Regions from separate parts of the Homo sapiens genome. Here regions 2, 3, 4 and 5 are each linked to region 1. Evidence: promoter capture Hi-C in 16 types of primary human blood cells and fetal thymus (Javierre and others, 2016). All regions are on one chromosome and are shown on one strand. Each heading gives the region's core, a stretch centred on a gene start or on the middle of the fragment in contact. The rest is flanking DNA. Distances are from core to core; before and after follow the strand shown. Region 1 holds the start of TSHR (thyroid stimulating hormone receptor). Region 2 has its middle 160 kb from the start of DIO2-AS1. Region 3 has its middle 23 kb from the start of SEL1L. Region 4 overlaps SEL1L (SEL1L adaptor subunit of SYVN1 ubiquitin ligase). Region 5 overlaps SEL1L (SEL1L adaptor subunit of SYVN1 ubiquitin ligase).

What was found. Contacts are between HindIII fragments. The CHiCAGO score rates a contact against its expected background, and 5 or more counts as called.
Region 2: a contact is called between a fragment that was not itself captured here and the fragment with the promoter of TSHR in region 1, in 2 of 17 cell types (megakaryocytes and endothelial precursors). The highest score is 8.4, in megakaryocytes.
Region 3: a fragment that was not itself captured here is called in contact with the fragment with the promoter of TSHR in region 1 in 3 of 17 cell types (naive CD8 T cells, total CD4 T cells and activated CD4 T cells); the score reaches 6.4 in naive CD8 T cells.
Region 4: a contact is called between a fragment that was not itself captured here and the fragment with the promoter of TSHR in region 1, in 10 of 17 cell types (total CD8 T cells, naive CD4 T cells, activated CD4 T cells and 7 more). The highest score is 10.4, in total CD8 T cells.
Region 5: a contact is called between a fragment that was not itself captured here and the fragment with the promoter of TSHR in region 1, in 16 of 17 cell types (total CD8 T cells, naive CD4 T cells, total CD4 T cells and 13 more). The highest score is 25.9, in total CD8 T cells.

Annotation. Positions count from the first base shown.
Region 1 is chr14:80,952,398-80,957,718 of GRCh38, forward strand. It overlaps TSHR (thyroid stimulating hormone receptor), which reads left to right and starts at 3,224. Exons shown (of 10, transcript NM_000369.5): 1 at 3,224-3,453. The coding sequence starts at 3,284. It also overlaps a transcript of CEP128 not described here. The HindIII fragment of the contact is 2,816 bases long and covers 2,027-4,842 here.
Region 2 is chr14:80,050,805-80,056,125 of GRCh38, forward strand. No RefSeq gene overlaps it. Among named protein-coding and RNA genes, the nearest start is that of DIO2-AS1, 160 kb to the right of the region's middle. The HindIII fragment of the contact is 4,862 bases long and covers 643-5,321 here.
Region 3 is chr14:81,554,193-81,559,513 of GRCh38, forward strand. No RefSeq gene overlaps it. Among named protein-coding and RNA genes, the nearest start is that of SEL1L, 23 kb to the left of the region's middle. The HindIII fragment of the contact is 3,544 bases long and covers 1,390-4,933 here.
Region 4 is chr14:81,494,584-81,499,904 of GRCh38, forward strand. It overlaps SEL1L (SEL1L adaptor subunit of SYVN1 ubiquitin ligase), which reads right to left. Exons shown (of 21, transcript NM_005065.6): 7 at 5,026-5,079; 8 at 4,876-4,935; 9 at 3,830-3,911; 10 at 3,309-3,463; 11 at 498-554. Among named protein-coding and RNA genes, the nearest start is that of SEL1L, 37 kb to the right of the region's middle. The HindIII fragment of the contact is 8,034 bases long and covers 1-5,321 here.
Region 5 is chr14:81,478,809-81,484,129 of GRCh38, forward strand. It overlaps SEL1L (SEL1L adaptor subunit of SYVN1 ubiquitin ligase), which reads right to left. Exons shown (of 21, transcript NM_005065.6): 20 at 804-932. Among named protein-coding and RNA genes, the nearest start is that of LINC02308, 31 kb to the left of the region's middle. The HindIII fragment of the contact is 2,719 bases long and covers 1,071-3,789 here.

The DNA of each region.
Region 1 (5,321 bases), core at 1,974-4,473:
TTCTAAAGAATCAAGGAAGAAATCTAAAAGAAAAACTAAAAAGTATTTTAAACTGAATACAAATGAAATTACAAGATATCGAAACCTGTGGGATGTCTCTAAAGTAGTATAGGGAAAGTCTACAGCACTACACACATACAATATTATAAAAGAAAAATGGCCTCAAATCAGTGACCTCAGTCTTAAGAAACCTCACCTTAAGAAGTAAAGAAGAGCCAATTAAACCCCAAGTAGGCAGAGTAATAAAATAATAAAGATCAGAGCATATATCAATGAAATAGAGCACAAAAAAAAATAGAGAATCTAAGAAACAAAAATTTGCTTCTTTGAGAATATGAATAAAATTGATAACCCTCTGGATAAAGTACTTAGGTGAAAAAAAGAAGATACAAATTATCAATATCAGGTATGACAGAGTTGACATCAGAATAGATTATATAAATATAAGAGGATAAGAGAATATTATGAACAAACTCATGCCAATAAATTCAACAATTTAGATGAAATAGACAATTCATTATATGACACAAACTGCCCAGGCTACCTCAAGAAGAATTATATGACTTGAATAGCCCTAAATCTATGTTTAGAAACTGGATTTATAGTTAAAAACCTTCCAATAAGGAAAATGCAAGGTTCCAACAGCTTCACTGGAGAATTCTACCAAATAAGTAAGAAAGGAATGATATCAGTTCTACACAAACTCCTATAGAAATTTAAAGAGGAAGGAATATTTCCCAACTTATTCTGTGATGGAAGAATTAATTGCCCTCATACCAAAATTTGACAAAGAAGTTACAGAAAAGAAAATAACAGACTACTATCCCTTGTGAACGTCTATGTAAAACTTTTAAACAGAATTTTAGCAAATCCAATGAAGGAGTATATTAAAAAGATGATAAACACGGCCGGGCACGGTGGTGCATGCCTGTAATCCCAGCACTTTGGGAGGCTGGGGCGGGCGGATCACGAGATCAGGAGTTCCAGACCAGCCTGGCCAACATGGTGAAACCCCGTCTCCACTAAAGACACAAAAAATTAACCGGGCGTGGTGGCGGGCGCCTGTAATCCCAGCTACTCTGGAGGCTGAGGCAGGAGAATCCCTTGAGCCCGGGAGGCGGAGGTTGCAGTGAGCCAAGATCGTGCCATTGCACTCCAGCCTGGGCGACAGGGCGAGACTCCGTCTCAAACAAACAAACAAAAAAAGGATAAATACATCATGATCAAGTGAGATTTATCCCTGCAATTCAAGGTGGGTTTAACATTCGAAAATCGATCACTATGATTCACCACATTAATAAACTACCATGGAACCATCACCACGAACAAGATTTAAAACAGTTTTATTACCCACAAAATTCTCTGGTGTTCATTTGTAGTCAGCCCTACCCTAGGCCTTTGCAACCGCTGATCTTTTTCCTGTCCCTATGGTTTTGCCTTTTTGAGAAAGCTATATAAATGAATCATTAATATGAATAATTACATATAAATACGTAATATTTTGAGTTTGGCTTTTTTCACTTAACATTATGCATTCAAGATTTGTTCCATAACAATACCATGGTAATTTTTAAAAAAACAACAACAAAAGCCCGGGTGCGGTGGCTCAAGCCTGTAATCCCAGCACTTTGGGAGGCCGAGGCGGGCGGATCACGAGGTCAGGAGATCGAGACCAGCCTGACTAACACAGTGAAACCCCGTCTCTACTAAAATTACGAAAAAATTAGCCGGGCGTGGTGGCGGGCGCCTGTAGTCCCAGCTACTCGGGAGGCTGAGGCAGCAGAATTGCTTGAACCTCGGAGGCAAAGGTTGCAGTGAGCCGAGATCGCGCCATTGCACTCCAGCCTGGGCGACGGAGCAAGACTCCGTTTCAAAAGAAAAAAAAAAAGAAAAGAAAATTTGTGCATGTTGTATCAGCAGTTCATTCATTTTTATTGCAGAATAGTATTCCAATGTGGAGGTATCAGAGTTTGTTTATCCATTATCTAGTCGCGAGACACTTGGTTCGTTTAGTGGTTATGAATAAAGCTTCTGTAAAATTTGGAATACACATATTTTAAATGTACGGTTTAATGAATTTTGATAAATGTATACATCCACTTAACCTCCAGCCTAATTACGATATGGAAACCCTGTGTGTTCCCTCCTGTCTTTTTCTAGTCAATCTTTCCTAACCTTTATTCTGATTCCCATAACCACAACTTTTTCCTTCCTGTCCTAGCCAAGTTCATATAAAAGGAATTATGCAGTATAGAAGGAATTGACATTCCTTTTATCCCAAGAGGAATAAGTGATTGAAGACTTTTAAGAAGGAAATAGGCACAATCTGATTTATGTTTGTAATGATCTTTTTGGCTACTGTGCGAAGAATGGTGAGTATGCCACTTAAGTATTATTTTTCTTCCCATCTTCCAGGGGGAATATGACTCAATGAAATTCTTGGGTCGACCAGAATTTCCATACTGGACCCATTATTAAGGGAACCTGGAATTATTTCTGCCATTCCCGATTCTTCCCAGCAGATGGCCCCAAAGTTCAGTTCCTGAATTGCCTCGCGGAGCCGCGGGCTGCAACGTGAGGCGGCCGCTGCCAGTCGACTCAACCACCGGAGTGGCCCCTGCAGTTGGATAGCAACGAGAATCCTCCAGGGGTGCAGGGCGACGGCTTCGGCCGCACCGCGGGCTAGCCAGGGCTGCGTGCCCGCCTCTGACCCTCAGCAGAGGTGTCTCTGGCCAGGAGGAGCTGAAGTTCTGCAGGACATTGGTCCGCCCGCGGACAGTCCACTCCGCGGGGACTTTCTCTGGATAAGGAGTGCGTGCGAGTGGCTCCCAGGCAGACAGGGTGTCTAGAAGGCTACACGCTAGGGAAGGTGGCTCCTTGGATTTAAAGAGGAGGAAAGGAGGGGGCATCTAAACTAGGCTTTGGAGAGAACTAATGGGAGGGGCGCCCGGGGTGGGGGGGCGGGCTGGAAAACAGAGGGGACAGCCAGGACTGGTGTTGGGTGTCAGGGAACAGACGGAGCGGACTGCGTGGGTCCAGCCAAGGAAAGTGAAGCAAGCAGACTTGTTTGGGTCAAGGTTGCCTAGGGAAGCGGAGCACTTAAGTGCCTCTTTTTCCCCTTCTCCAGCCTCCTCCACAGTGGTGAGGTCACAGCCCCTTGGAGCCCTCCCTCTTCCCACCCCTCCCGCTCCCGGGTCTCCTTTGGCCTGGGGTAACCCGAGGTGCAGAGCTGAGAATGAGGCGATTTCGGAGGATGGAGAAATAGCCCCGAGTCCCGTGGAAAATGAGGCCGGCGGACTTGCTGCAGCTGGTGCTGCTGCTCGACCTGCCCAGGGACCTGGGCGGAATGGGGTGTTCGTCTCCACCCTGCGAGTGCCATCAGGAGGAGGACTTCAGAGTCACCTGCAAGGATATTCAACGCATCCCCAGCTTACCGCCCAGTACGCAGACTCTGTGAGTACCCGGGAGAGATCAGGGTAGGACCCAGAGATCAAGGGCATCTGCAGAGGTGGCCCGAAGTGCACAAAAGCAGCTCAATAACAGCCCGAAGTAGTGTGTGAGTGTGTGTATGTGTGAGTGAATGTCTGTGTGTGTAGATGTGTGTGTGTGCTAAAAACTTAATCGCCCACACTTGGGAAGGTATCATTGTTGACATCCTCATTCCCAACACAGGAAAATGTTACAAAACTTTGGTGTACAATGACCGTGAGAGCTGTTCTTTCCAACAAGCTGCTATTCAGCACTTTGCCTAACCCTGGTTGAATCTGTTTTATTTGAATTAATAAGGATAATGGCATCTCAGGAACTGACCTTTTTGATCTTACCTTGGGTAATAAAAAATTGCAAAAATATGTATTTCTCCTTTTTGTTTCTCTAGATGGGAGGTTATCTTAGCAGTTCTGCTGATTCATCAAATTGTTGACAAAGGTTTAAGCAGGGGCCCTTTTTAAAATGAACTGTCTATACAGTATCTGTAAGTTACTTACTCAAATGTGAACTGCCAGTGAAATAGTACGTCCAGAACCCTGCTTTGTGATAGAGGTATAAAGAAATGAAATTTCATAAAAGTATAGTACATTTATCTGCATGTTAAATGTTACCAGATTAGAAACCTGATGTTAAATAAGATTATACACACACAACCTGTTTCTTAACAGCAATTTAAATCAGTGATCATTGAAATTGTAGACAAAACCAAGGGAATAAAGTCTGTCTTGATTAGTTAAAAAGAGAACAGAAAGAAAGGACAGTAAAACAACCTAGGCTGGTTAAATCCAGTTAAGATAAAAAAAAATGCAGGTTATTAAAGAAAATGTTGATAGATGAAAAGAAATGGGAAAGTTGCACCTCTAGATTTTCTCAAGAATTTAGCTCATGAAGACTATTTAACAGTAGATGAATATTTGAGCACAGAGATATATTTCTGTGCTCAGAGATATCCTAGTGTCTTAGCACACCTGAATTAATTAGTTCAATAACCTCCAAACAGTGTGGTAGTCATTCTCCATGCTGCCACCACAGAATAAGATGTGTAAAAGGTGTAATGGCCTCTTGATTACACCTCTACATAGGTTGCTTGTCACCTCTAGAATAAAATTCTTTTGTGCAGCCTACCAGATCTTTCAAGACCTAGTCAAGTCTTTCCAACCTCATTGCTCCTCATTTCTCTAACTTCCCCCTCCTGCTGAGAACTTCTGGCACTTCCCCAAAGGTCCCTGCTGTTACAGCTGCCCTTGCCTTTCTTCCCACTTTCTGGCCCCTCTGCCTGAAGCACATTTCACCCATTTCTTCACCCAGCTAATGCCTACTCCCAGATCCAGATCCTGGATCAACCCTGCAGGAAGCTTCTCCTGACCCATGACCTTCAGGCTGGGTAAGCTATACCCCCCTTCCCAACAGCGTTCTCTGCATGAACCTAACCCTAGCCCTTAGACATTGTCTACTTTCTTGTAACTTGTTATTTATTTGCATGCCCACTCAAGCAGGACACAAGCTTCTCTAACATAGGGAACTGCCATTCAACCCCGAATTCCTGAAACCCTGGAACTACTTAGACACTCAGAAAAAACAAAAAAAAAAAAACTTAAGTGAATAAATAAACAAATGAATATGCCAGGTCTCTGAATGTCCACTCTATGTTGGGGAGAAAGAAATCCAAAGACATCACTTCTTCAGAGACTTCTTTAACAGTGGCAGAAATTCAAGTCATTGAAGAGAGATGTGGCTCTGACAGTGAAAAGGAACTCGTAGACATCCTGTTTAAAATTCCACCAAAAGTTGAGAAAGAAAGGGTAATGGAGAATGAGCAATGGAACAGGAGT
Region 2 (5,321 bases), core at 1,824-4,323, 900 kb before region 1:
TATTTAAAATGATAAAAATGAATATTGACCCTTACCTTATACCATGAACAAATTTAACTTGAAATTGATAAAAGAAAAACTTCAGCCGAATTAAATTTAAAAGAGTTTAATTAAGCAATGAACAATTCATGAATCGGGCAGCCCCCAGAATCACAGCAGATTCAGAGACTCCAGGGGTGCCTTGTGGTCAGAACAAATTTATAGACAGAAAAGGTAAAGTGACATACAGGAATCAGAAGTGAGGTACAGAAACAGTGAGATTGGTTACAGCTCGGCGTTTGCCTTATTTGAACACAATTTGAACATTCAACTGTCTATGAGTGGTTGAAGTATGGCCACTGGGATTGGCCAACACTCAGCCATTGTTACAGGTGCATACTATTAAGTTAGGTTTTCAATTTTGTCTGACTATTAGGCTAGGCTACAGTTCATCCACAAGAACTCAAATATAGAAGTATGGAGTTCTTCTCAGGCCACAATGAGTTTGCTTTAACAAAATCAATTATAGCTCTAACTTTAAAATCTATAACTATAAAACTTCTAGAAGAAAACATTGAAAAAGATCTTTGCAACTTTACAGTATGTAAAGTTTCCTTAGACAGAAGAAAATAGCATAAACCATAAAATTTAAAGAATAGACTAAGCTTACTTCATCAACATTTAAAACATTTGCTCTTCTAAAAGCACCATCAAGATAGTATGCCATAGAATGGGAGCAAATATTTGCAACACAAATATCAAACAAAAGACTCATATCAATAATATATAAAGAATTCTTACAATTCAAAAATTAATTATACAATCTGATAAAAATACAGGCAAAAGATTTGAACAGATACTTTATGAAATAAGATAATCAAATGGCAAAATTTCACATGAAAGATACTTAACATCATTAGTAGTCAGAGGAACACAAACTGAAAACAAAATGGGATATAATTATGTGCTCGTTAGATTGCTTAAAATTGAAGTGACTGAATATAACAAGTGTTGACAAGGTAGTGGAGCAACTAGAACTCCTAAACACTTCTGTAGAAAATGCAAAATGGTAAAACCACTTTAGAAACCAGTTTGTTAGTTTCTTATAAAATTAAACATAATTTTAATTTGATCCACTACCATATGATGTAGGCATTCCACTCCTAAGTATTTACATAACAGAAACAAAACTTATAATCTACCCCAAGACTGGTGCACAAATGTTTATAGTAACTTTATTTTTAATAGTCCCAAATTGGAAATATCCACATGTCCATCAACATGTTAACAAATAAACAATTTGTGCTATATCCACATGAAAGAATACTCCTTAGCAATAAAAATAAACCATTGATATACACAACATGGATAAATCTTGAAATCATGATGCTAAGTGAAAGCATGAAAAAAAGAGAATGTGAGATATTTTATACAAAATTCTAAAATGTAAACTAATTTATGGTGATGGTAAGCCGGTCAATGGTTGCTTAGGGATAGGAGTAGTTGGAGGACAGATTACAAAGAAGTATGAAGAAACTTTTGGCAGTGGTATAAATATTTGTTTTGTTCATTATGATTTTGCAGGTGTTTGCATATATCAAAACTGATTAAATTGTATTTTTAAAATAGTTGGGTGTCTATATTATTCTTTCATTATGTATCAATAAAGCTCTACAAATTCAGAAAAATTATTTATTATCTCTTTCCACAGAAGCAGCCTAAAACAATGACAAACTCAGTTGTGATGAGAACCCCTAACAACCACTAGAGGAAATCATGGCTCCTTGGGAACAATAGTAGGTTTCAGGTCTGGAGCAGAAACTGAATGTTGAGCATAGATCATGTTATCATACCAGGGAGCAAGAAAGCTGCTATAGTCTGACTGTTTGTGTTTGCTCAAAATATATGTTGAAATTATAACCCCAAAGGTAATGGCATTAAATGTTGGGTCTTTGGGAAATAATTAGGATTATATGAGGTCATAAAGATGCAATCTTTATTAATGAGATTAGTGCCCTTATATGTCCCAAGAGAAGTTGCCTCCCCACTTCCACCATGTAAGGACCCAGCAAGAAGTTGGCATCTACGAACCACAGAGCAGCCCCTCAACAAAGACTGAATTTGCTGTTGCCTTGAACTTGGACTTCCCAGTCTCCAGAATAGTGAGAAATCAATGTTTGTATTTAAACTATTCAGTTTAGAGTATTTGATATAGTAGCCCGAAGAGACTAAGAAGCTACCAAGGACTTCTACGGTCCTATCAAAAGGAACTGTAGGCTATGAAATCATAACTATACACTAAAGAAAAGTAAAAAGCCTCAAGCCTCCAGATCTATTACCAATCAATAGGGAATAGAGGGGACAGGCACCATAGTGATAGAATCAGCAAAATTCAAACTATTAGAAGCAGCTGGGTTTCTTCCACACCACAACAAAAATTAAGTAGTTCATTCATTCATTCACTGAATTACAAAAAAGAGCAGCAACTATATATTATATATATATATATATATATACACACACACACACACACACACAAAGTGATTATTAATTAATTGAAATGTATAGGCCAGGCTTTTTAAGGATTCTAATTTTAACAATGAATTGAACCAAAAGATTCTAAGATATTTGGGGAAATGTACACACTGCTTGGATATTTGATGATATTGAGAAATGACTGCTTATTTTGTGAAGTAGCAATTATGAATAAAAACAGAATACTAATCACTTACTAGACCAACCTCCTGAAATATTTGAAGATGAAATGTTAGATTAAAGCATTTAGCTAAGCAGAAAGATTTTGCTAGTCAAAAAGAAGAGCTTTGTGTAAGTGGAGTTGCCCAAAGATGGAATGGAGTGTCTTGACAAATAGTATGCACTTTATCACAGGTGGATAAGCAATCAGGGTTTGATGACCCCGGTAGAGAATATTGAGGAAGGACTTCTGGCAGTGTGTTAAATAATATCTAAGGTTCTTCTCAGCCTCATATTTTATGATTCTAAATAGATTTTATCTGTGTACCAATAATCTTAAAACTAAAAGTGATTCCTGGGATTTCCAGGACTTCAAATAACCTTTCCCATCTCTTCTCTGTCTTACATGCTTCAGAATCGTTCATGGGTGTCCAATCTTTTGGCTTCCCTGGGCCACATTGCCACATTAGAAGAAGAATAATTGTCTTGGGCCACACATAAAATACACTAACACTAAAGGTAGCTGATGAGCTAAAAAAAAAAAAAAAGATTACTAAAAATTCTCATAATGTTTTAAGAAAGTTTATAAATTTGTGTTGCACCTCATTCAAAGCCATCCTGGGCCGCATGGAGCCTGTGGGCTGCAGGTTGGACAAGCCTGATATAGAGAGATTAAATAAATTGGTCAGGGTCACACAGCTAATAACGATATGTTCTTTCCATCACATCACATTGTAAATTTCTTCTGGCATTGTTTGGCAAGTCATTGGCCTCGTGGATTTTAATGTTTAATTATAATACATTCTGGTCATTCATGTTCTGTTTTATTTGCTTTGCTGATTATTGTTCTCCTTATCATCATCATCATCATCACCATCATCATCATCATAGTTATTAAGTATTTATATTTTTCCATGATTGTTATAAAGGTAGCCATGACTTAAATTTAAATAAATAGTATTTTATCCACCTTTTGTTTACTACTTGAACCTCAAATTTGTAAGACTGCTATTTCAAAAAATAATAATATATCTTTTAGGAAGAGGACTTTGTGGGATTTTTTTAAAGGATATCTACTACCTTTTCAGCTATATGATTTCTTTTTTCCAAAAGAAAGTGTGATCTCTTTAGTAAGTACCACATATCCTCCAATTTCCTTAATAATCTCAGGTGCCTGTCTAGCTGATTTATAATTATGCAAGTTTTCCAAGTTCTCTATTCCCTCACCTGATTTTTGCCAATAGCTATTTGGCAACGTTTATATCCTAATAGTCCAAATTTGTTGCTTCATTTTTCCTGTTAAAAGCAGATTCGAAGCATGAGTTCAGTGTCTCAGCCATTTTAGAATCATCCTCAATTTCATGTCTACGCCTGCTGATTGGCAGCCTTGATTTCTCCTGGTTGTTCAATGTCCCTGGACGTATTTATTAACGCCTTCTTTTGTACTTTGAAACCCATTTTAGCACTAATCATTTCACTACCTTTGTCTTTTCTCTACCAAGTTTTAACTGATGTGGAATATTTTTACTCTATGCTCTTCTTTTTAGGCATGTCAAGCAAGAATTTTGCTCTCTCATCAGTCCTCTGTGATAGTACATTGAATGTGTCATGCAATTAGCATTGCTGTTTTTCAGAAGAATTGAAGCACTATCCTGATAATTTGGTTCTGAGCTTCACTTCTGCCTGAAATGTCTAGATAATTGCAGCATATGTGGGTGTTGTGAGGTTTTTTTCTGCTTGAATTATCCAAATAATTGCTTTAATTCTCCACTTTGCCTTACATATAGAGACACAAAGAAAGTGGATCAAGAAAATGGAGGAACCACGGGAATTTTTTTGTGGAATCCTTATTCTGTGCAAGGCTATGATCTGATTGCCTTCTCTTCTGAAAGGAAGTGCCTTCTGGTCACCAATATGTCACTTGCCTGGTATCTCTATTTTGAGTATTTCTCTCTGTGTGAACTGCTGCTTAGCTGGCCAGGACTCAAATGGTTTCTTACATAACCCAGGATATTTTCTTAGATTCTCTTCTATGAGTCAGTGAATCATAATATTCAGGGCATATCAGAGATAAAAGAAGTCCAGAACATCAACCACCTCTCAACCTCTGACCACTGACCCCACCATTATATAGATGTAGTCATTGAGACCTAAAGGGGTAATGTAAATATATACGCTTTCATAGAAAATCGGTGCAGAAGCAGGAACAAACAAACACAGGATGTATGCTAACTGTGGACCAAAAACAAAATGAAAACTCCAAAACTGATTTTACTTATCTTTTCCCTAAATGCAAATAAAGCTCACAATATCAGTTGAGTCATCTATAAAACATGATTTAGGGAAAACTGGACGAGTGACAACAGAGGCTCTCTCCATCTCTTCCCAAGGCGGTACTCTCCCCTCTTTTGTTGAGTAATGTAGGGTAGAGAAAAAAATAAAACAGACCTACATAATTCCTCCAGAAAAGGGGACGGCACCTGAAAGCAAGAAGTATGTCTCCTTCCTCTTCTTCATCCTCTGCAGAGTTGTTCAAGAAGTCAGCTCTCAGGCACCAGCTAAAACTCTGGAGCCAGCACAACTCCAATTTTGGAAACTACCATTATGGAAAGAAGAAAGTGAGCACAGCCGTGAGAGGTCTATGGCTC
Region 3 (5,321 bases), core at 1,912-4,411, 600 kb after region 1:
TAGGTCAGGGGTTTGAGACCAGCCTGGCCAACATGGTGATACCCCCTTCTCTACTAAAAATACAAAAATTAGCTGGGCATGGTGGTGCATGACTGTAATCTCGGCTACTCTGGAGGCTGAGGCAGGAGAATCGCTTGAACCCAGGAGGCAGAGGTTGCAGTGAGCTGAGATCACGCCACTGGACTCCAGCCTGGGCAATAGAGCGAGACTCTGTCTAAAAAAAAAAGGGGGGGGAAAAAACCAAAACCAAAATACCTTTTAAAATGTTAGAATTGTTTTAGGTTTACAGAAAAGGTGCAAAGCAGTGTGGGGTTTCTGTATATTCCACATTCAGCTTCCTCTTATTGCTAGCATCTTATATTAGTGTGGTGCATTTGTTACAATGAATGAACCAAATGGATCCATTATGATTAACTAAAATCCTCACTTCCCCTTGTTTTTACCTAAAGTGCCTTTTCTGTTACAGAACCCCATCGGGGATACCACATTACCTTTCATCATGTCTCCTTAGGCAACTCTTGGCTGTGACGGTTTCTCAGATGGTCCTTGTTTTTTATGACATTGACAGTCCTGAGAGGTACTGGCAGGGCATTTTGCAGAATGTCCCCTCAATTGGGATTTTTTTTTTTTTTTGAGATGGAGTTTCTCTCTGTTGCCCAGGTTGGAGTGCAGTGGTGCGATCTTGGCTCACTGCAACCTGCACCTCCTGGGTTCAAGTGATCCTCCTGCGTCAGCCTCCCAAGTAGCTGGGACTACAGGTGCCTGCCACCACGCCTGGCTAATTTTTGTATTTTTAGTAGAGACAGGGTTTCACTATGTTGGCCAGGCTGGTCTTGAACTCCTGACCTCAGGTGATCCACCTGCCTCGGCCTCCCACAGTGCTGGGATTACAGGCATGAGCCACTGCACCTGGCCCCTCAATTGGGATTTGTCTGCTGTTTTTCTCATGATTAGACTGGAGTTATAGTTTTTGTGTGGAACACCACAGAGGTGAAGTGCCATTCCTACCACATCGTATCAAGGAAACATACTGCCAACACGGCTTGTCACTGTGGATGTTGACCTTGAGCACCTGGCTGAGGTAGTGTCTGGCAGGCTTCTCCACTGTCAAGTACCTTTTTTCCACCTTTCTGAAATCTAGAAGGAAGTCACTTTATGGAAGCCTGTTCTATCACGTTTGAATCTCAGTGTGGAGTCTGTGTCTCCAGCTGTTGTTGTGTTTTACAGTCATTCCATAATTGATTTATTAATTGTGGTAACAGTCACATGAAAAAATAATGTTTGGACCCATTAACATGTACAAATATTCTTCGAAGCCTATTGCTTTGCAAAGAGACTACACACTTGCATCAAGCTAAATACAAAATAGCAAAAAAGGAACAAAAAAGAAGCTTTCATTAGTGATGCTGAGCATTGTGTCCTCCACCAAGAGACACACCTGGCACACACCTGGCAGGGCCCAGGGCATGAGTACAAATGGAGGCCTATATACCATGGCTCTTACAAATTGAAAGTTATAAATTAAGCAAACAAACTGTTAAATTATGTCCTATCTACCTGCCAAAACAATACACCTTCACAAAAAAATGTACAAAGTTATATAGTCTTATATTACTGAAAATCGGCAAATATCAAAGACAACTGACTGTAATTATTGTTGCACATGCCTGGGTGTTCCCTTGATGTGTTGGGCATGTTTGGGTGAGTCATAAATTAAAGACATATGTAATTTGCAAATTGTACATTTATTCTAAAATTTTTATTTTTCTTGCCTAACGTCAGCAGTATCTCCAATTATGCTGTTTAATCAAGATTTCCACAAAATTTCTGTTCTCTTGATGGTAATGCCAAATTACATAATCTTTCTTGAGTCATTGAAATTATTATATGGTTTTAAAATTCCAACCTGGGAAACCTCTCTGCCGAGGCTGTAATGATTAAAACTGCCAATAAAGTTCTTCAGACATTACTTAAATTAAAAAATGAACCACAAATATTACTAACATGTTCAAACATTGTCATGGGATTTTGTGTGATAAACTATTTTTATCATAGAAAATACTACTACATATTTTAACTCATCTAAATTACTATTTTTATATCACAACTGTAATTGTCTCTTAATGTCTAGATCCATTCAATATTTTTTCTTTTTTTGTTTTTTTGAATAGTCCTGTTGCAATAAGTATTTTCTTCTTTTAAATTATTCAACACTATGGTATTATGAAGATAACTTGAAAATAGCAGTTTGATACTCAATTTGTTAAAATCTCTCTTCAATTAATAATATACTTCGATTTGTGATTTGCCTTTCTGAAATTTCAGAATTATTTATACATGAATCTTTTTTCATTGTCATAAAAACTTTATAATTCCCTTTTTAAAAGTTCTCTCCCCACTGAAGGAGGAAAAGTAAAATGCGTAGCTGCCTTAAATTGTGTAAGCCAATGACTGAGCCTTTGATCTTAGATTGTCTGCTGGATGGAGTTCACCTTGAACCACATGCTATGCTTACCACTCACTAATGTATGTAAGGAATTTTTTAAAGGACTTTGAAAATGAATATATTCTATCAGCTTTAAAACAAAAGTTCTCTCCCCAACACCCCCCTCCACCTTTTTTTTTTTTTTTTTTTGTGGAGACAAGGTCTTACCGTATTGCCCAGTCTGGTCTCAAACTCTTGTTCTCAAGAGTTCTTATGGCTTGGTATCCCAAAGCACTGGAATTACAGGTATGAGCAACCATGCTTGGCCTTCTTTTAAACAACTCTTTATACTTTATCTAAGCATAACCTTTGTTGCATATTTTATGCCAATTTTTTCAATTAAGAAAACAATTTCTAAAAGTAAACTATATATGTGTATATATAGTTTAATGCCTTTAACAAAGTATCAAACTAGATCTGTTTTGTTTTGTTAGTTTTTAAAAGTTAAAATTAAGCAATAGATTATACTAAATAAATGTGGATGGCACAAACTCAAAATTAATTTCATTTTTGGTGATTATTCACTCATTTGGGAATGTTATTTTGCCACACTCTCCTAGTGGATCCTAATTGTTCTAACATGTGGTCCAAATTCCCATTATGTGTCAAATGATGGTGTAGGGTCCAATTTCATATGTGTTTCATCATGCTAGTTCATTTTTGGGCTGACCCAGGAGATACTGAATTTTATCTCTGAATTGTTCCAAAGAATAGTGTTGCCATGGGTGCAGATGAGCTCATTTCTCCCAGTAATAAATTCCAACTCTGTGCATATGTAGCACAAAGAAATGCTTCTGGATTTTTGGTAAACATTCTGGCTTAATCACCTTATTCTTTGCCGACCATGTTAGTGAGATTAGGTAAGCCATGAAGTTTGCCCTCATCAATCTCTTAAATCAATGCCTAAAATTGAAAATTATTTTCTCAGCTTTTCAGTAAAGTCTAAACCTATTTTCACAACTGATGTCAACCAGTGGAATACTGTTGCGTTTTGACTTGTTTCCTTTTCTGGTAGTTCAACAACACATATAGTGAATATTACTTCATCAACATTTTGACCCTGTTACAACCTAGTTGAACTGAATAATAGTATCTTTAATTTTATTTATTTATTTATTTATTTATTTAGACAGGGACTCCCTTTGTCCGCCAGGCTGGAGCGCAGTGTTGTGATCACAGCTCACTGCAGCCTGGACCTCCCTGGCTCAGATGATTCTCCCATCTCAGCCTCCTGAGTAGCTGGGACCACAGGCATGCACCACCACACCTGGCTAATTTTGGTATTTTTTGTAGAGAGAAGGTTTCACCATATTGCCCAGGCTGGTCTCAAACTCCTGGGCTCAAGAGATCACCTGCCTCAGCCTCCCAAAGTTCTGTTATTACAGGCATGCGCCATTGTGCCCAGCCAATAGTATCTTTTTAAAAATTACATATGTTTTTTTCCTCACCTTATTACTCATTAAATTAAGAGCTTCATTTTGAATTTTCTAACCTTGAGAGTGATCATTTGCTTCATTATATTTTTGTTCATTTTAGCATCAAAATGTGAAACAATTTCTACTAAACCTAGATATTGTGCTTTTACTGACACAGAAAGCATCATTATGCATAGCAAATTTTGGGTACGTAGTGTCATCCTTTTCAGAACATCAGAGTAAGGTTCTGAGGTGGCATTTCCTTATCTTTATTGAATATGATCAATTATTCTTTATTCATCCTTTTGTTTCAGAAATTGCATTGTACTTTTTCTATGTGCAAATAACATTTTGTGACATGTAATTACATCTTCATTTGGTGAAGAATATGAGGTTGTAGGCATTTCATATGACCTGTGCAGACTGTGAATTGATAAGAATAATTTGCTAATTTTAATTTTTTAATCGCAATTAAGTCTTCATTAAATAGAGAATACGTAATATCTTGGTCAGGACTTTTCTGTGGGGCATACTTGCCAGACATTTGCTCATTTCCCTTGTTTCCAGTTTTAAAATACGTATGCAATCTGCCTCTTTGAGGAACTTCTACTTATTTTCTGGTTAGCTCATTTTCTTTCTGAGTTCCACTTTTGTATATTTTATTTCTAACATGATCTCAATGATCCAAAGCATTAAACAATAAAACTCAAAGTGTATGTAATTTAGACACACTTTTATTTAAAATGTAAGTGGAAGTAAATTTGAAAATAAAAAATTGTAATAAAATATATATATTTTAGAAAATTATATTTCTTTGGAAATATCAAAAATTATATGCTAAAATTAAAGGAGGGTATACCTTTTAATTAATAAAAACATTTTAAATAAAAAAGATTAAAATGAAGTTAAAATATTTCTACTTAATTTTTTGAAAATTTAATTAAATCACATTAAATATTTTTATAAAACTACAGTGATTTACAATTCCAAGATTCATTGTCTCTCCAGTTACCAATGTAAAGAGTCAATGTCAAGCTTTATACTTGTTGTGTCTAGACCTATTTCTATTAAGAGTAATATGAATTGTTTAATATTGCAAAATATTTTATTGCCATTATGCAACTGCTGTGAACATCATGGAAGTTGTGAGAATCTCTAGAACTGTAACTTGGAGTATTAAGTGAATAAAAAAATGGATGTTTGGCACTACTGGGAAATGATAGTATATTTTGAGAAAATCCATTACATTTCTGTTCTCTAAGAGAAATAAATCAATTTGTGTTGTCTCTTACTGAAGCAGTGTCTACCTCTGACATTGGCATCAGAGCAATTCTATTAGTCCATTCTCACACTGCTATAAATATGTGAGGCTGGGTAATTTATAGAGGAAAGAGATTTAATTGGCTTACAGTTCCACAGTC
Region 4 (5,321 bases), core at 1,827-4,326, 540 kb after region 1:
AGCCATATTCCTTCCTGTCTCTGGGCCTATGCACATACCGTTCTTTTTGGCCTGGAAGGACCTTATCTCCAGGGTCAACTTAAATGTTTTCTACTTCTCTTTACAGAAGTCTTCCCTGGCAAGCGGTACCTCCTACCCATTAACCAATTATTGTATCTTTTAAATCTCCTTTGTAAGAATAACCACAATTTATATTTGGTGTGATCATTTAAAAAATATCTAATACTCCTATTAAAGTTAAAGCTCCAAAAGGTCAAAGACCAAAACTATTTTGTCCAATATTGCATGGTGAATGCCTAGCAGTGAATGGCACATAGTAGGTACTAATATTTGTATTCTTCAGCTTTCTTAGGGGTTGGTTACATCTTGAAAGCTCATTTGTGATGGGTGTTTAAATGACAGAAGTTTGATACTGGTATTGACTTAGCAAGAAATACATTGGGAACATCATTTCCTGCTAAAACTGAGATGCAAAGCCCTAGGAACAGGGTAGTTACCTGATGATTCTGTTCTACTCCACGCCCTCCGTGCAGGTGCAGTTGTCCAAGACCAACCTGAAAATGATCACAAACAAGGCAAAAGTAAGTGGTACCATCTGGCACACAATTAAAATCAGACCAACAAGAAATGATTTGGTCGTAAAATGGCTTCTGTTCATGACTCAAAAAACAAAAAGATTTAGTCTTAACTCCTGAAAATGCTATTCTACTTTAATTAACCTAAAAATTTTGAAAAGTAAAAACGTGTACTTGTAATTGCAAAGTACCATTTGCGGCCAGGTGCGGTGGCTCACGCCTGTAACCTCAACACTTTGGGAGGTCATGGGTGAATCACTTGAGCCCAGGAGTTGAAGAACAACTTGGGCAACATCGCAAAATCCTGTCTCCACAAAAAAATAGAAAAATTAGCCGGGCGTGGTAGCATACGCCTGTAGTCCCTGCTACTTGAGAGGCTGAGGTGGGAGGATCACCTGAGCCTGGAGAGGTCGAGGCTGCAGTGAGCTGTGATTGTGCTGCTGCACTCCAGCCTGGGCGACAGAGAGAGATGTTTTCTCAAAAAAACAAAAAACGGGCTAGGCACGATGGGCTCATGCCTGTAATCCCAGCACTTTTGGAAGCTGAGGTGGGTGGATCATCTAAGGTCAGGAGTTCAAGACCAGCCTGGCTAACATGGTGAAATCCCATCTCTACTAAAAATACAAAAATTAGCTGGGTGTGGTGATGGACATCTGTAATCCCAAATACTTGGTAGGTGAGGCAGGAGAATTGCTTGAACCTGGGAGGCAGAGGTTAAGGTGTGCCGAGATCGTGCCACTGCACTCCATCCTGGGTGACAGAGCAAGACTTTGTCTTAAAAAACAAACAAATGAATAAACAAAACAAAAAACAAAAACACAAAGTATCCTGCTAAAGTGGAAGTGAAATAAAGGCATTTTCACATAAATTAAAACTGAATTTGGGCCGGGCGCGGTGCCTCACGCCTGTAATCCCAGCACTTTGGGAGGCCGAGGCGGGCAGATCACGAGGTCAGGAGATTGAGACCATCCTGGATAACATGGTGAAACCCTGTCTCTACTAAAAATACAAAAAAATTAGCCGGGCATGGTAGCGGGTGCCTGTAGTCCCAGCTACTCGGGAGGCTGAGGCAGGAGAATGGCATGAACCTGGGAGGCGGGGCTTGCAGTGAGCCGAGATTGCACCACTGCACTCCAGCCTGGGCGAGAGCGAGACTCCGTCTCAAAAAACAAAAACAAAAACAAAAAAAAAACTGAATTTGTCCCCAGTGAACCTGCTCTAAAGGAAACACAAATGGGTGCTCTTCAGAAAAAAGGAAACTTACTAGAAGCTGGGAGATACAGTAAGAAATAAAGAGCTGGCTAGGTGTGGTGGCTAATGCCTGTAATCCCAGCCTTTGGGAGGCTGAGGTGGGTGGGATCACTTAGACCAGGAGTTCAAGATCAGCCTGGCCAACATGGTGAAACTCCATCTCCACTAAAAATACAAAAATTAGCTGGGTGTGGTGGTGCATGCCTGCATTCCCAGCTACTTGGGGAGGTTAAGGCACAAGAATCGCTTGAACCCGGGAAGCGGAGGTTGCAGCGAGCTGAGATAGTGGCACTGGGCAACAGAGCAAGGATCTGTCTCAAAAAATAAAAAATAAAAAAATAAATAAAAAGCAATGAAAAGGTAAATTTGAAAATAAATGTAAATTAATATGGACTGTACAAAACAACAGTATCTCATGGTACCAAAATATATAAAATCAAACACACACAGAATACTCTGAGATCTCTGTGCTGTCCTGGAAATGGTAAAAGTGCTCATCGTACCAGACTTTGGTAAGTCAAGGATGCATGTTGTGATCGCTAGATAACCACTACAAGAGTAGCATCATGCTGGCAGAGGGGAAGAGATGCAACAGGAAAAAGCACTCAACCAAAAAAGGGCAAGAAAGGAGAGAAGAGTAAACACAACAAGCAAGATACACAGAAAGCAAGTAAAACAGAAAATTTTAAGTAAACTAAATTTTACAATAATGTAAAAATAAGATGTTTAATTGAACAAGTTTATTATAATTTCTATCAGCTAACATTTAGATCTACGTTTCACTACGTTTTTTTTTCCTTAAGACTCCACTGCTAGTCTTAAAACCAACTGTTCTTAATAAGTATCTAATGCTCATCTGTACATGTCCTAAATTAGAAATAATTGCAAACTTAGTGGAAAAAAATATAAATGTTAAAGTTCTTTTTATTTTAATATCAAAAGAAGCCACGAAACCTGTGTGTGCACACATGGTACTTTGACGGACATTATACAACTTCCATTAAACGAGCTTACTTCTGTTCTTGACCTTGAAGAAATTATGATTTTAGATGAGCCAAAGAAACACGAATGGTAAATAGCTCTGAAGAGCATCTGATATTGCAAATATTCCAGGGACTTCTTGTTTAGAGAAAGTGACAGTTTTCATCATTGGTGACTCCAGTAACAGCCTTCATCATCGGTGTTAATGCTGCTCTGTTCAAGCAGTGATTTTTTTAGGGGCAGTACACGGGAGAGTCACCTGGACAGTTTTAGGAACCCTCAATGCCTAGGCCCCATCCCACACTAACCCAAATGGAATCTCCTGAGAGTGTGAGACTCTTGGTTTTTTTTTTTAAGGGGCTCAGGTGATTCTAATATGTAGTTCATAATTGCTCAGGGCAATGAAAATGTAACTTACAGATATAAGTGCTTGCTCCCGTCCCCCACAGATTAAAATATACAATGCAGTAAAGATATTTGGTGAGATGTTCAAACACGTACCTGTGCTTGTACATCACCTTTTTCAGCTAGGAACTGGTAATATTGAATCAAATCTTCTTCTAGCATTCCACTGTTCATTCCTGGATTTTCCACTTCATCAGGCAGCCGTATTCTCTGTACTACTGAGCCTCCTGTTAGCGAGATATCACTAGCAACTGAAATAGAGGGATAAAACAATAAGGTGGAGGAAAATCAGAAGAATTGTTCCAGAGAGAGAGAAGTACAATTCCAGCTGCCAAACGTTGACGAACACATTGTTAAAGGAAGCTGTTTTTACAGTAGTCTATATAGATCGCAAATCAGTAATCTATTAATAAATTGAACTTTTTTCACAACGTAAATAGAACCTAAAGCAAAATTATATAAAGAAAAAAGTACTTCTGAACCTCAACTAGTTTAAAGATGAGTCCACATAAAAGAGCCATTTATAATACTTCAAATAGAACAATAAAAATAGAAATGTTTAAAGTTAATTCCATTTATTTTTTTTTCCTAAAAGGTAAAAGGGGAAACATAGATACCATGATTGGCAACAAGACGATAGTGAGTCAGGGCAGATTCACAACTCTGGAGGACGCCGATGCCAGCCCAGTATCTGTAACCCTGTAAAACAACTTCACGTGAGGAGGCAGCAGTTTCATGTACTTCAGTGTCATTCTTCGTGGAACAAATAAAGCTAAGCATACCCAGAATTTTGCTGTCATTTGATCCAAGTACACTAACACCTTATTTATGCTAAGTGTTAGGTTTTGAGGTAATGGATTCAGCAACTTCAACAAGAAGGCCATAGCTAAGAGCAAGGAAATAAATAATATAGTTCCTAGAGCAATCAAAATAGATGTCATAAACTTTATTTTTGAAGTGTGTGCATTTTACTCATAAGAGAAAAATTATAAGGGCTTTTGCTTAGAACCAGTTTTAATCTTAGACATAATTTTATTAAAAATGAGTTAATCTTCCAAATTAGCAAAGAAAAAGTAACAAATTAGCAAAATAGGGAAAATGAGACTACTGGAAGCAGGCACAGTGTCACTAGCAATAAATGACCAGAATAAATGGGAAGACAGCCAATCATGAAAAGTAAAAAACAGAAAGTAGAGCTCTCTGGAGTCATTCTGCACAAATAACTCCATGAATTTTAACAATTCTTAGGGCATTGTTGCAAAATATTGTATAATATTTCATGTTGTTTTTCTATAGCCACCATTTACAAAATTTTGAAAAACTAAAGAAAAATTTTTAAAATTATGATAATCTAATGTAAAAAATGATTCTGACAATTCCAACTCAGAGAAAATTTAAAAAGAGCCATTTATCAGATCTCTCTTTTTAGGGGCAATCAGCCAAACTAATCATTTTAAAGAAAAATTGTGGACTCCACCAACTTTCATTTACATGTAGATTCCATGTGTTATATCCATTAACAAGAATTTGAAGGAAGTTCAACTGAATATTTGGTCTTAATACAAGCAAATCTGGATCATGAAAGCTGAAAAAGTTGTGGCCGCTATAAACCACAAATTCTTCTGATGTTAATATTATTAGCCTTCCACTAAAGTCTACTTACCAAAACCATGTGGGCTATTAGATTGCCCCCAAGAGCTCCAAATGTATAATATACAAGAGCCTGTGAAAGAACAAAACATGTTTAACTGAACATAGGCACGCATTTATTCAATTCAAATTGTAATATGCAATAAAGTTTTAATAGTATTACCTTTGCCTGACTTGAATTAACACCAAGTCCAGAGGCATACAGAAAGCCAAGAGCCTGAAATAGATGATAAAAGTAAGAAATCTTGCTTTGGTGAAGGTTTATCCAAGACAGACACAGACAGACACAGTTTTATATACTATGAAAAAATGCAAGAGTCTTTAAATGCTAAAAGATTTGAATTCAAGTATGTACAAACATGGATTAAAGAGCCTTGGAAAAGCATTCAGAGTTTTACACATTACACAATTAAATTAAATGTAGCATTATTTTAAAAAAAATTTTATTTATTTGTGGCT
Region 5 (5,321 bases), core at 1,180-3,679, 530 kb after region 1:
CACACATGAGGGAAAGCCCATTCTTGAATCTAAAACTGAAAGACATTAACAAAAGGGTGAAACATCATCCTTTTCTGGTCCTGAAGAAACTTTCCTTGTCCTGAATAAGCCTATGTTAGAAACAAGGGCTCTGAACATCTTAGGGCTTTCAGAGTGAAATGCTCTACCAGTTAATCCATTCTAGGAACTATAGTACTGGAAACAAAATATAAAGCTGGCAGAACCCAAGAGTACCTACATACCAGTATTGCCAACTAAAGTTGGTAATTTTGAAGAAAATGGGTAACCCACTTCCTATATAGGTTCTTCCATTAGCCTATTTAAATAATTCACGCTATTTTTAGAGAAGAAAATTTGGGTGGTGTTTTCAACTTAATGCTTCACTATCGGAAGAATCTGAAGTACAACAACCTGGGGAGGTTCTCAGATTCTTCTTTTTTTTTTCCTTTTCTTTTTAAGGGACTGGTTTGAGTCATCTGATTTAATGTTTACTGAATTAAATACTGTTTCAAACTGCCATGAGTTAGTCTCAGTTTTCCCTAAACCAGAAAACATCTGCCTCCATGAAAAATGCTTTAGCGTCAGGAAGTGTCAAACGCTACCTAAAAACTGCAGTAGCTGCTTTATGCCTGCATTTATCCCTCCCCTGATAAGGTCCTCGGGTACCTGAGCTGAGGAGAAGGGAACACACCCGATACCTGCAGGACCACTCTTCCCTGTGCTTCTCAACTTTTGAAAAACAAACCTCCAGGACAGACCTTCCATCATTTATATTTTAATGAAAAGAGGTACGGACCACTTACGTTTGTTTCCCGTATGTACTGCAAGAAATAGACGACGCCCAATTTGCAGAGGGCTAGGAAGACTGGAACTTGTGCATCTGGGCTGGCTTCAGCTGCCATGTCATAAAAACGTTTCGCAAGGTGAATATCCTATAATACAGGTAAGAAACAAAAATGCATTTCTTGTCAAAATAAGTAAAAATATTTAGTGAACATATTAGACGAATTTATTTTACCTTTGAGGTTTTCATTTTAAAATGAGTTTCCCTCACCTAAACAAAAATGCCAAGCTTTACTTGGGTAAAATTCGTTTAATTATCTAACTGCTTAATATTGAAAAACTTAATTAAAAAACTCATTTTCCCCCAACATAACATCTAATTTGCTGTGTAGATATGCTGCATACAGCCATATATCTATGCATTAACACTGTTAACCTAGAGATTTCCAAGGGCGACTTCTGAAACTCACACTAATTTTTTGCTACTTAAAACTTCAATCAGTATTAGCAACGTCTGGTTTCAGTTCTGGACAGTGATCTTCAAAGTGGGGTAGAAACACTCAAGATTTTACAACAGATGACAGGCACGGTGGCTCATTCTTTTTTATTTTTTTTTTGAGACAGAGTCTTGCTGTCACCCAGGCTGGAGTGCAGTGGCGCGATCTCGGCTCACTGCAGGCTCCGCCCCCCAGGGTTCACGCCATTCTCCTGCCTCAGCTTCCCGAGTAGCTGGGACTACAGGTGCCTGCCACCTCGCCCGGCTAATTTTTTGTATTTTTAGTAGAGACGGGGTTTCACCGTGTTCGCCAGGATGGTCTCGATCTCCTGACCTCGTAATCCGCCCGCCTCAGCCTCCCAAAGTGGGCTCATTCTTATAATCCCAACACTTTGGGAGAGCGAGGCAGGAGGATCACTTGAGGCCAGGAGTTCAAGACCAACCTGGGCAACATAAACTGTCTCTACAAAAAATAAGCCAAATTAGCTGGGTGTGGTGGCGCCTGCCTGTAGTCCCAGCTACTTGGGAGGCTGAGTGGGAGGACTGCTTGAACCCAGGAGGCAGAGGTTGCAGTGAGCTGAGATGGTGCCACTGAACTCTAGCCTGGGTGACAGAGTGAGACCCTGTTTCCAAAAAAAGAAACAGATTTTACAAGAGGTACTTGCATGGACATGTTAAGGGACTCGATTCTGCAGTTCTGCAGCTTCCATATGTGCTTTTTCCTGAAAGGGATCTGCTGAGAATAGGCCTGTATGCACAGCAACGTTTCTCTGCTTCGCTTTGCTAAAGGAAGGCACAGCCCTTATCTACCCCACTCTTTCCTCCAGTGCATTGTCTTGGGGTGTAAAAACCTCAGGGGCTACCACCGGAAGAGATCTACCCCACTCTTTCCTCAAGTGCATTGCCCTGGGGTGTAGAAACCTCAGGGGCTACCACCGGAAGAGATACCTTGAAATACTGGTTCTGGAGAAGGCTCCTTTATTGACTAATTATAAACCCTTATTAGGGCATCTTGTGTTTCCCTGTGTTAGATATATTTCTGTAAAGGGTGAAACCAGGCATTCTTAATTTTGGCCCAGGCTGGAGTGTTCTGAATTCAGATATGTAATAGAATGGGATGGTGGGAATTTTCACTTAAAAATCTCACTTCTACTCCCTATTATCAAAGAATACCAAACTCTTAAGAAAGAATTCCATGAGATATGAGGAAGAAAGGTTAAAGACCAAAAATGACTCCCCCTCCAAACATATTTAAATACAAGCAGTTATTTTCAGCTATTCCTTATTCTTGTCCTTAGGGTGTGTCATTATTTAAAAAGAAGAGCATCTTCAAATAATGCTAACAGTATGGTTAGTGTCTGAGTTTTTAGAAAAATATAACTCAAATGGTTTTTTCGACTGCTATATTTTTCAAGATCATGGATCAAACTTCATGTGATTCATACATTGGATGATTCACTAGGGTAATTAAATAGATTCACTAGTATGTAATTAAAACTTATCAAATAATATGATGATTTTTTCCAATTATAGTCAATCCTCATATTTAATATTTTCCTAACTATATTAAATGGGGGATTGTTTTTAGTAGCATGAATATTTTAAACCTCAAAAGAAAAAAAGTAGAAAAGGTGATCACGATGTCTTATAAAAAAAGTAATGGGACCGCGTGCAGTGGCTCACGCCTGTAATCCCAGCACTTTGGGAGACCGAGGCAGGTGGCTCATGAGGTCAGGAGTTCAAGACCAGCCTGGCCAAGATGGTGAAACCCCGTCTCTACTAAAAATACAAAAATTAGCCGGGCGTGGTGGCAGGCGCCTGTAATCCCAGCTACTCGGGAGGCTGAGGCAGGAGAATCGCTTGAACCCAGAGGGCGGAGGTTGCAGAGAGCCAAGATTGTGCCACTGCACTCCAGCCTGGGCAACAGAGTGAGACTCCATCTCACCGAAAAAAAAAAAAAGTAATGGAGTTACTGATTTTCATACATGATTATTTATTTTCATAAATGATTATTTATTCTCAAAAGCTAAACAAAAGTTCCCTCCCCCTACTCTTATCAAAGGAGTACTATGCCTTTTATCATATTCTTTATTCACAAGAATTTCTATTATTAGCTATACAGTGTATTACAAATTAAATTAGAACACATTTTCTTGTTTTATAAGCTATTATAAAAACAGATTAGTTATATCATTTTAATTTTGACTACAGTCAGTAAATTATTACTAGATGTACTCCATGAAAGCCATAACTTACATGTGATCTTTATATTAGTCATGTTAAACTTCACTTGAATTAAAAATAAAGTCAGCTGGGTGCAGGGGCTCATACCTGCAATCCCAGCACTTTTGGAGGCCAAGGCGCTTAAGTCCCCAGGGGTTTGAGACAAGCCTAAGCAACATAGTGGTACCCCATCTCCATTTAAAAAAAACGACAAAAATCCGTCAGCCTTTCTGATAGAAGCTAAGTCTAATTTGGGACACTGGATGACTGGTTTGACAATAAAGAGAAGCTTCAGTTACTACATTAAGTGGCAGAGATCTTCCAGAAGTTGAATGTACTGAGTTTGCTGCTCCTGAGCCTTGACTGAACTATATTTAAGTATCTAATATTAGTAATATTCTAAGTATTAAGGTAAGTTTAAAATATAAATATTTACATACTGAAATTAAAAGAAAATGTCCAAATGTGAACAAAGCAGCAGCATTTTGTCAAGAAAATACCGCATTAGCAAAAATGAACAACTTTCCCTCAATCCTTAGGTCAACAAAGGGCCTCTAAGTGACACAGGAAGGAGTATAATTAACAGCCTATTTCATAAGTCTTGGTAAAGCCTTTTGTACTCTTCCTAGAAAATAAGAAAAGTGAAAGGTCCCAGTGTCAGGGAATGCATGCTTTCACAAGTCTCTGGTTTCCAATTCTTTGCTTTCAACACAACTGAAGAGGGACCTATCAAGTAGTCAGGAGATTGATCATTAAAAATAATTTCTAATGACAAGTCACTCTGATTTTTGGCATCTAACTCTTAAGGTAGTTTGAAGAATTAAGTGACCATGCTATAGTGAAATTCTTCCCATTTTCACATACATGACATTCTAGTCATACATTTAAAAAAATGAAAAACAGAATTAATGTGAAATCTCAATTTTTAACAAATACTCCATTTATCTCATTAAAAGATGCATTTTCAATTAATAATACAAAAAGCAAAGTTTTATCAAAATGTATTTTGTAGATTTGATCAACAATGCATTAACTGACCAACTGTGACTAGTAATATCTCATGAATTTTTCTTAACACTTAGATCACTGGTAATAAAATTCAAAATGAATTTATACACTTGTTTGTTTCAGGTAAGTATGATACAGTAATCAATAAAAGACCTAAGCATTAAAAACAATACATTAGTATTACATTCTACAGAAGTCGTGGTAGAAAACATAAATTTAGGGAAACAGGAAAAGACCTAGCTTTCAATTAAAAAACTTGCTTGTATATTTCTAAAAAATTAATAATGGTAAGTGGGTATTAAATTATTGTTATTTAGATTCTATTGGATATTTTAAGGGTAATTAATTTTATTTAAAAATGTTAATGCTTAAAATAGCTGGAACTTAGACCCTTTGAAACTTAAGAAAAAATTTAAATGCCAACTTAAAAATGTACAAGGGGGTCTGTAGTTTTTCCAAATTCTTTTGAGGGCACACAGGAAAAACCTTAAGTCATGAGTCCAGAGAATGACAGACTTCATTAGGCAAGTGTAAGAATCAGAAATAAATTTATCAGTAGAATACATTTAATTCATTTCAAAATAATTTGAAAAAAATAGAATTTGGCTGACGATGGACAGATAGTTTCTCAAACAAGTAGTTATCAGCAGAGGAAGCACTGCACTTCCATTTTCATGAGTCTGTCTTCAGCTTAATCCCTAAATAAAACAGCGTGGATAGCAGTATCTGTGCGTGCTGGAAGATGAGAGATGGAAGGGCAGTCTTCTGAAATATTACAAATCAGTCCCATAATTTAGTGGCCTGAAATCCA